2 separate regions of the Homo sapiens genome follow, and region 2 is linked to region 1. The links are contacts of gene promoters, found by promoter capture Hi-C in human tissues and cell types (Jung and others, 2019). All regions are on one chromosome and are shown on one strand. Each heading gives the region's core, a stretch centred on a gene start or on the middle of the fragment in contact. The rest is flanking DNA. Distances are from core to core; before and after follow the strand shown.

Region 1 (5,022 bases), core at 2,404-4,903:
AAACTTTTTTACCCCCTATACTCTGAGTGGTTACAGACCCCACTGTTTTGGATTATACTTTGGGACATACATTTCTCACCATTTTCCACTTTCAAAGATGGTTCTTTAGACCATTCATCACGTGTGGTGCCCACCACGTTCTGCACCTTCCTATGTGCCAGGAACCTGCCAGGTCCTGTCATCTAATTTCCACAATGGCACTGGGAGGCAGATGCTAGGTCAACCTCCACTTTTCAGATGACGAAACTGAGGCTCAAAGAGGTGACATACCTTTCCCAGGGTGACACGGTGTGTGCATGGGGGAACCTAGGCCTGCCGGCCCTTTCTGTGGTCTTGCAGAGGAGAATTTCTGTCTCCGATGAATGTTTTCAGAGACGTTACCGCCTGGGAAACCAGGCCGCTCCTGCTCTCCATGTGCAGAGGTGGGACTGAAGGACACTGAAGGCTGAAGCAATGGGAATGATCACAACCAGCCTTTCCACTCACTTCTCAACCCCGGCCTGTCCTCAGATGTGGAGGCTTTCCTCTGTCTGTGAGGCCACCCCCTCCCTTTGCTCAGCCATTCCCATCATCCTCTGCTCTTGGCTAGCATGTCAGTTCCTCAACCCCATCAAGCAAGGCCCTCCCTCTTTTTTTTTTTTTTCTTTCTTTCTTTCAAGACAGAGTCTCAGTCTGTCACCCAGGCTGGAGTGCAGTGGGGCGATCTCGGCTCACTGCAACCTCCACCTCCCAGGTTCAAGTGATTCTCATACCCCAGCCTCCCGAGTAGCTGGTATTACAGGCATGCGCCACCACGCCAGCTAATTTTTGTATTTTTAGTAGAGATGGGGTTTTGCCATGTTGGCCAGGATGATCTCAAATTCCTGACCTCAAATGATGCGCCTGCCTTGGCCTCCCATGGTGTTGGGATTACAGGCGTGAGCCACCACGCCCGGCCAAGTCCTCCCTCCTGAGAACCTTGGCCCTTCCTGCACTTCCCTGGCCACTGTCATTCTGGTTTGCTGAATAGGCATCTCCCAGCAGGTGAAAGGTTCCAGGATGTAGGGACTAGTTCCAGCACCCAGGAAGGTACAGAGCAGGGGCCGGACAAACGTTTGCTGCAGATTCAGCCTCTCAAAAATTTTCTCTGACCTCCTGCCACCTATACCCTCTCCAGAGGCCACTAGCCCCTTCCTCCCTCCCAAGGGCCTCCATCCAACCCACCTGCCAGGTTCCAGCTCCTGGGGCACTCCAAGTTCAAGGCTGATCCGTGCCAGGGACCCTGGCTCTCTCCCAGGGCCAGGCACAGGTTAAACATTGATAGGCAATGCCTGCAGCATTGCCTTATCCCCTCACCTCCTCCATGAAGCCTCCCTGATGCCTGGGCCAAGGACCCCAAGTACTTGGAGACTGTCTGGTGGCTCTTTTCCTGGTTAGACATGCCTGAGAGTGGGCTTCTCTGGACAGATGGGGTCTGTCACATAGCCCCAGAAGCTGGCCCAGCCAGCCTCAGCTGTTTGCTGAGGGAATACATGAATAGATGGCCGCATGTGGCTGAGAGAGGCCAGAGCCACCAGCTCAGGTGGCAGCACCTAGTGGGATCTGGTTCCCTTAGACAAAGGCCAGTGTGGGGGACAGATGAATAAATCATGAGGGGCCTGGAATGGAGCCGGGGCAGGATGATGACCTCATTCTGGGAGTTGAAGAGCGGGCAGCTGGGTGGGGAGTGGGCTGGGGTCATGGCAAGGAAGCCTGAGAGGCCAGCAGGGGCTGCCCGGCCCACCTCCACCCCTTTTCCTTGAGAAGCAAGAGGTTGAAGGTCAGCAGGACCAGGTGGAGGTCCTGGCAGAACGCAGGGAGGTGGGCAATGCAGAGGGACCCTGGGGAGGAGAGGGGGCTAGCACAGAGGGACCCTGGGGAGGAGGGAGGGAAGGAGGGGGCTAGCACAGAGGGACCCTGGGGAGGAGGGAGGGAAGGAGGGGGCAGCACAGAGGGACCCTGGGGAGGAGGGAGGGAGGCAGGGAGGTGGGCAGCACAGACGGACCCTAGGGCTCTGGGCTGGGGAGATGGGGAAGGCCTTTCCAGAATTCTGGAGCTCTCCTGGGAGCGGGATGGTGGGGAGAATAGGAAGAGCAAGGAAGGACAGACAGAAAGACCAATGCAAGAAAGGACCTTGCAGCAACAGAGGGAAGGAGCCAGCAGAGAGATGGGCTGAGTGGGTCAGAGACGGCAGAGACACCACTGGATCCAGACTGACAGAGATGGCGGCGAGTCAGAGGGGATGGAGACGGGGCTGCAGGCAAAACAGACACAGAGGCAGAGGGGGCACAGAGGGGCAGGCGGTGAGATGGAAACTGAGCAAGGAGGTGTGTGGGGCATCAGGTGCGCGTGAGCCAGAGAGATGCAGGCAGAACACTGCGGGGGAGGAGGCCAAAGGCAGGCAGGAGGGCCGACCACTGGGGCCACAAGGATGATCAGGTGGAGCCCCGGGCACAGTCTGTGACCAGCATGAGGGGCTTCACCAGGCTGACAGGGCCACACGAGGGGCCACGGGGAGCTAGGGAGGATACAAGACTCTGGGGACACGGGGCTCTCCCAGTTTATGGAGGAAGGGACAGAAAGAAGAGTAGCAGGGACCCAGGCCACACCTGTGGCTGCCCACAAGACCACTCTCCCGCAGGACTGGGGAGGCCGGACGGAGCAGCGTCCCTCAGCCAGGAGGAGGTACCAAGCCCTCATCTCCATGGCCCAGCCCCAGGGCCCAGCAGAGGGCAGCCTCCCAACGGGGGACCCCAGCCCCTCTGAGGGCACTCCAGGAACCAGCCAGGCCCCTGGCAGCCCAGCAGCCACCCGGCGACGAGAGCTTCTCCGGGAGCTCGAGGCCCAGGTGCAGGCAGCCTACGGGCAGGTAATGCGGGCAGGGGTATGAGGGGACCAGGAACAAAGAGCAGGGACCCCACACCCCAACTGGGGGCCCCGGAGGACAGACCCAGGACTTAGTCCAGGGAGGGGACCAGGAGGCAGAGTCCAATGGGAGACTCTCTGAGGTCGGCAGGGCCGGGGTGGCTTCCCTTCCCAATCTCCACCCTCACCGAGCCCTGTCACTGCCCACAGCACATAGGCGGTTCCCTTCTGCTCCTCATCCAAGGGCGGGGCACCAGTCCAGGCAGGGGGAGCCAAGTGCAAGCAATTGGGGCTACCCCGAGGTGAGGAGCCCAGGGCCCAGCTGGGGTCCTGGCAGGGAGAGGCAGGGGCTTCCTGGGCTGAGCCAAGTGGCTGCCTCTTTCTGGGAGGCTGTGTGGGAAGGCCCGCGTGTCCATACCAACCGGAATCTGTGCCATTCGGAGGGCCCAGCCCACCCTGGCACACTGCACGCCTGCCTTCCTCCTCCTGGGACCCAGGCCCTGCTTCTGAAGACATTAAATCTCCCCTGATTGGGAGAGATTAGAGGCAGGGGTTGGGGGAGGGTGCTGGAGAAGGGGCGTCTGGAAGACCCTCAGGAGGCAGTCTGGGGAGGCTGTGCTCTCCAGGGGGCCTTGGGCCCAAGTGGCTCCCCTCAGCAGCGGAGACGCTCAAAGATAATCCCGGATTAGGACCCAAGCCCCAGGCCCAAGTCCCCCGCCTGCCCACCCGCCCCCGATCTTCCCCACAAAACCCCAGGAAAATCCCCGGCAGTACTCCCAGGCTCTCATCGGGAGCAGCTGGGGGCTGGCAGGAGTCCTCAGGCAGCAGCATCCGCCGAGGCCCACCCGGGCCACCCCCGGGGTTCCAGGCCTGGCATGGTTCAGGGCCCATGGGGAACTGTGCCAAGCGGCCCTGGCGCCGGGGCCCTAAGGTAGGAGGGGTCAGGGGAGAAACCCAGGCCAGGAGGCTGGAATGGACCCTGAGGGTCAGATGGGATGGGCAGAGCCCTCCGAGGGCCGGGCGGGGTTGGGGGCTGCCCACTGCCCCAGGTGGAGATTTTTTTCCTGGAAGCCACAGCCTCTGGCCATCCTGATCTTGGCTCCCACCGACCTCTGGGTCTCCCCTGCCAGGCTCCAGGTCCCCCAGCTGCCCGTCCAGCTGCCCCATCCCGGCTGCAGGTCCCCGCTCTCTGCTAGCCAGCCTCCATCTAGGAGACAGAGCTGGGCACAAGGTCCCTCTCTGCCGCTGGCTTTCTCAGTGGCCTTGGCCAAGTCTCTTGCCTTTTCTGGTCCTCAGTTTGCCCAACAGAACAGTTAGAGGATTGACCCTTTCTGCCTAAAGAGTTCACGGGTGAGGGTCCTCTCTCTACCCCCCAGCCCCTTCCCTACTGTCCCATGCCGGGCTCCAAAGACAGGAGCAGCTGGTGAGAGGAGTGGGGAGGGCTATCAGGCCCAGAGCTCAGCGGCCACTGCCCCAGCTCACGGCCGGCTCTGCTGCAGGACCCCTTGCAGTGGCTCGGCTCCCCACCAAGGGGCTCCTGCCCCAGCCCCAGCTCCAGCCCCAAGGAGCAGGGGGACCCCGCGCCAGGCGTCCAGGGCTACTCGGTGCTCAACAGCCTGGTGGGGCCTGCCTGCATCTTCCTGCGGCCCAGCATTGCCGCCACCCAACTCGTATGTACGGCCACCCGCCCGCCAGCCTGCCTGCCCTTGCCCCTCTCCCACCAGCTCACCTGCCCTTGCCCCTCGCACTCCAGCCCACCTACCCTTGCCCCTCGCTTTGCCTCTCCTGGAGCTAGGGGGAAGAGGATTGAGTGGGGACATCAGAGCAAAGGTACACAGATCTGGGGTGGGGGTGCAGAGAGGGGAGAGAGCAATGACTCTAGAAATGGAAGAGAGATCAACAGTGACATTGAGGCTGGCGGGACCAAGTCTGAGGTTCTGCCCAAACCCCAGATCCACCACCAGCAAAGGGAGCCCCCTGCCCCAGAAGAGGGTGATGGAGTAGGTGAGGACGGCCCAAGGAGTGACCTAGGCCAGAAGCAGGGAAGGGGGCACCCGGTTACCCAGGCCAGTGAGTAGGATGGGGTGGGAACCAGGGCCGAGCAATCAGACAGACACAGGCCCTGCGTGTGCGTGTTGG
Region 2 (5,091 bases), core at 741-3,240, 170 kb before region 1:
AGGTAAAAATCACCTTGCTGAGGAAGCTTTTCGTCTGCTGATTCTTCTTTGTGACATCGGGGAATAAGGATTTATTTCTAACAGTCTTGGGGGCTCGTCTGGGATCACCCAGTCTCCTTCGGGTCGGGGTCTCTGATTCCCGCCCCCCCACCAAGGGGAGGCGCCCCACTGCCTTACTGCGGTGGCCTCAGGGACTGGGAATCCGGACTTACCTGTTGTGATGAATAAACCCGGACCCTCAGCAACGTGGAAAACGGCGAATAGGCTTGCATTGCACTGCCTCGGGGACCAGATAAACTCTGTTCACAGAGCAAAGTAAAGAAACGTCGCAAGGGTGCGACAAAGTACTTGCTTGGTGGTCGGGATATTCTGGAGGTTAAAAGTGTGTGTGAATAGTCACAAGCCTCACTGCAGCTGGTGTTGCTTGTGTAAATCATGATAAGTCCTACTGCTGGACCGAGCGAGTGAGTCTTGCCTGCGGTTCCGTGGCTACCTCATACGGCTTAAGGCGGATCTTGCCTTGGGGTTTATACCGGCACGCCAATGCTAAGAGGGGCCTAAATTCCCGTGAGGAAAGTGGCCAGGTAGGACAAAGCGAGTGAAGAGTGTAAAAAGCCTCCAGAAAGAAAAAGAGGAGTTAAATCCTCCTCAGGGAAAACGAAACCTCAAGCACGTTAAGGTTAAAAATATAAGCAAGCCAGGAAAAAACAGGATAGACAAGAAATCTCTAGGATTAAGAGGTTAAGTCTACCTGATATTCAATATGGGAAAGGTTTCTAGTAAATCGGGGGCAAAAAAAGATGCAAGTTATCAAATCCCTCCCGATAGTCCTTTAAGGCTCATGTTAAAGTATTGGAAAGATAATAAAAAAACTAAATTTAAAAAAAGCAGCAGATAATTAAGTATTGTTGCTTTATTTGGACTAAAAAGCCAATTCTCAAGCCAGCGGTTTTTTGGTCAAAATTTAGGTCAGATAAAGATTAAATCTGTCAACTTTTAATAATATATGTTTATAGCAAAAGTCCTGTGTCACAAGAAAAATTGATTATGCTTTATGCTAGCGGCAAGGGCCTATATTATTCTTTATCCTTTAAAAACGATCAAAGGGGGACTAGAAAATAAAAAACAGTCAAAAATGGCCTTATCTAATAAGAGATAGGACCCTCTAGACCACCTTCCCCCGTTTCTTAATAACCTGCTGACACCTCCCCAGGTAGCTGCTGCTGTCCTAGATCCCCTTCTGGACCTGATCCCTGACCCAGCTGCCACTCCAGGCCCCCCTGCCACTCCAGGCCCCCCTGCCACTCCAGGCCTCCCCCATATAACCCAGATTCTTGTGAATCCCAGGAGCCTAAAAATTCTAAATATCCTTCTTTAAAGAAAAGACTCCAACAAAAATTAAAACAATGTAAGAAGGATATTCAGAATTTCCCTTTTCCTGCCCCCCAAAAAAGTTAACTTCAACATTCTTTCCTTTAAGGAAAGTTCCCCAAGGAGGAGAAGCTATTGGTTTTGTGGATGCTCCCCTTACTGGGTCTGAAGTTTGGAGTATAAAAAGAGAACTAAAGCCACTGTTAAATAATCCTAACAGGGTGGCAGATCAAATTGATCAGTTTTTAGGCCCACAGTTATATACTTGGGCTGAATCAGTGTGCATCCTAGGTATTATTTTTTCAAGGAAAAAAAGAAATACGATCTGGGAACGTAAACATCCTCCAGGTCAAAATGTTCTGGCAGCAAATCATAAATTCCCTGCTCAGGACCCGCAGTGGGATAAAATAATGCTGCCCACCGAAATAATATAAGGAATTTTTTAAAAAATAATAATCAGGGGGATTCAAAAGTCAGCACCCAGACCCCAAAACCTTTCCAAAGCATTTAATGTCCAACAAAAGAAAGATGAAGGACCTATGAGGTTCATAGATAAATTAAAAGAACAAATAAAAAAAATGCTAACTTAGACCCAGAAAGCCCTCTTGGGCAAGGAATGTTAAAACTGCACTTTGTTACTCACAGTTGGCCAGACATTACTAAAAAGTTACAAAAATTAGAAAATTTAAAAAATCAATAAAAAAGTTATTTAAAAAGGCTCAAAAACTATATGTAAAAAAATAAGGAAAGACAAAGGCAAAAAGCAAAAATCTTTTGGCAAAATTCACTAGTCTCTGGCAGACGATGCCAGAGACCAGATCTAGACCTGGGCCTATAAAATTCTCTAGGGGAGGCAAAAGGAAAAAGTTTAGGAATTCAAAAATGCAAAACAAAAAAAGAAGGCAAGGTCAGTATTTATTTTTTTAAACTAATTTATTAATTTATTAATTTATTTATTTATTTTGAGATGGAGTCTCACTCTGTCACCCAGGCTGGAGTGCAGTGGTGCGATCTCGGCTAGCTCCGCCTCCCAGGTTCACGCCATTCTCCTGCCTCAGCCTCCTGAGTAGCTGGGACCACAGGCCCACGCCACCACACCCAGCTAATTTTTTGTATTTTTAGTAGAGACGGGGTTTCACGTGTTAGCCAGGACGGTCTGGATCTCCTGACCTCGTGATCTGCCCGCCTCGGCCTCCCAAAGTGCTGGGATTACAGGTGTGAGCCATCGCGCCCGGCCAGGTCAGTATTTTAGAAAAAAATGTCAAAGTAAGTGTCATAGGAGCTGTGGATGTGAAAATAAAGAGGAGAAGCAAAGAAGCTTTGGGCTTGGTAGGGAGGAAGGAAAAGACAGATGTTACAGATGCGGGAGACCAGGTCGTTTTAAAAGGGAATGTCCCAAGTTAGAAAAGGCAGAAAAAGCTCCCCCACTTGTGACCACTTTTAAAGAAGAATAGGGGGGTCAGGGGCTCTGACTTTTCTATTTTGAGTCCCACCAAGAGCCCTTGATAAATTTAGAGGTGGGACCCAGACATAAATTAATCACCTTTTTAGTCGACTCAGGAGAAGCCCATTCACCTGTCTGTTTTCCTTCAGCTCATTTAGTTTGTTCCCCAAAGGAATTAACAGTTTCTGGGGTTAAAGGGGAAGGATTCAAGGCAAAAGTTTTAGAAAATACAGAAGTTAAATATATAAATTGATTAGTTTATATACAATTTTTATTAATTCCTAAAGCAAAAGCCAATTTGTTAGAAAGAGATTTAACGTTAAAGTTAGGTATAGGTTTACAAGTTAGTCCAAAAGGTTTCCTAACCTCTTTAAATTTGTTAGCTATAGCAGATAAAAAATACATTCATCCAGCTGTCTGGTCAAGGGAAGGTAATCAGGGAAATTTACAGATTCCTCCAACACATGTTCAGTTAAAGACTCCAGGGGAAATAGTAAAAAGAAAGCAATACCCTATTCCTTTAGAAGGAAGAATAGGGTTAAAGCCTGTAATCAAAAGACTTATTAAAGATGGGCTATTGAACCTTCTATGTCTCCATACAATACTCCAATGTTACCAGTCAAAAAAATCAGATGAATCATACCAATTAGTGCAAAATCTTAGAGCTATCAATCAAATAGTTCAAACCACTCATCCTGTTGGGCCTAACCCCTACACTATTCTTAGTAAAATTCCATATAGTCATCAGTGGTTCACAGTAATAGACTTAAAAGATACATTTTAGGCATGTCCTTTGGCTAAAGACAGCCAAAATATATTTGCCTTTGAGTGGGAGGACCCCTATTTAGGCAAAAGCAACAATACAGGTGGACAGTTTTTACCCCAAGGATTTACAGATTTTCCCAATCTTTTTTGTCAAGTATTTAAAAAAAATTATTGTCCCAAAACAGTTATGCTTTCTTCAATATGTAGATAATATTCTTACATCTAAGGAAGAGATAGAAAAGGTAGCTGGACTTTCTACAAAAGTTCTTAACCACCTACAAGATAAAGGGTTATGGGTTTCAAAAGAAAAGCTTCAATATGTAGAACCTAAAGTTAAATATCTAGGCCATTTAATAAGTGCAGATAAAAGAAAAATAAGACCCCCCAAAATTGAGAAAATCATGTCTCTACCCTTGCCCCGAACCAAACAAGAACTTAAAAAATTCCTGGGATTAGTTGGGTACTGTCGTTTATGGATGGACTCATATGCATTAAAAAGTAAGCTCTTATATAAGAAATTAACTAAAGAGGAAACGCATCCCCTTATATGGACTTCTAAAGAAGTTAATCAAGTGGAGAAATTAAAAGAAAGACTCATCACTGCTCCCATCCTAGCCTTACCCTCTTCAGAAAATCATGTCATCTTTTTGTGAATGTAGACAATAGAGTAGGGTGGTCACTAAAGAACATGGAGGCGGTCAACAACCAGTAGCCTTTCTATCAAAAGCATTAGATCCAGTTGCCAGTAGATGGCCTCCGTGTATTCAGTCTCTAGCAGCCACAGCAATACTAGTTGAAGAAAGTAAGAAATTAACTTTTGAAGGGTACCTAACAGTGAGCACCCCTCACCAAGTTAAGGTGATCCTAAACCAAAAAGCTGGGAGATGGCTTACTGATTCTAGAATCTTAAAATATGAGGCTATTCTATTAAAAAAAAAGATGATTTAACAGATAATTCCTGAAATCCAGCAAGCTTCTTAACAGGAAACCTACTGCTCAAAAAAAGAACATTTGTGGTTAGATTTAATTGACTATCATACAAAAGTTAGGCCAGATTTAGTAGAGACCCCTTTTAAAACAGAGCGACATCTATTTATAGATGTCTCCTCCCGGGTAATTGAAGGGACATGACATAATGGATATGCTATAATTATAGGAAGATCTTAAAAGAAGTAAAATCAGGAAGATTATCAAATAGTTAGTCTGCCCAACCTTGCGAGTTATTCACAGTCACGCCCTAAAATATTTACAGAACCAGGTAAAAACCATCTATACTGACTCTAAATATGCCTTTGGGGTATCTCATACATTTGGGAAAATTGGGGCTAAGCAAGGACTAATTAACAGTAAAGGTAAAGAACTTCCTCGTGAAACACTAATTGTTCATGTTTTTAATAATCTTCAGTTACCTGAAGAAATAGCCATTGTCCATGTTCCAGGACACCAACCTAACTTTTCTTTTAAAAGTCGAGGAAACAATCTTGCAGACCAAATAGCAAAGCAGGCTGCTG

Evidence for each region. Contacts are between HindIII fragments. The study calls those that stand out against the background at their distance.
Region 2: a fragment that was not itself captured here is called in contact with the fragment with the promoter of CABP2 in region 1 in 2 of the 25 tissues and cell types used here (dorsolateral prefrontal cortex and lymphoblastoid cells).

The regions. Positions count from the first base shown.
Region 1 is chr11:67,522,077-67,527,098 of GRCh38, reverse strand. It overlaps CABP2 (calcium binding protein 2), which reads left to right and starts at 3,653. Exons shown (of 7, transcript NM_016366.3): 1 at 3,653-3,814; 2 at 4,383-4,553. The coding sequence starts at 3,773. The HindIII fragment of the contact is 19,085 bases long and covers 1-5,022 here.
Region 2 is chr11:67,690,583-67,695,673 of GRCh38, reverse strand. No RefSeq gene overlaps it. Among named protein-coding and RNA genes, the nearest start is that of ALDH3B2, 19 kb to the right of the region's middle. The HindIII fragment of the contact is 4,464 bases long and covers 1-4,222 here.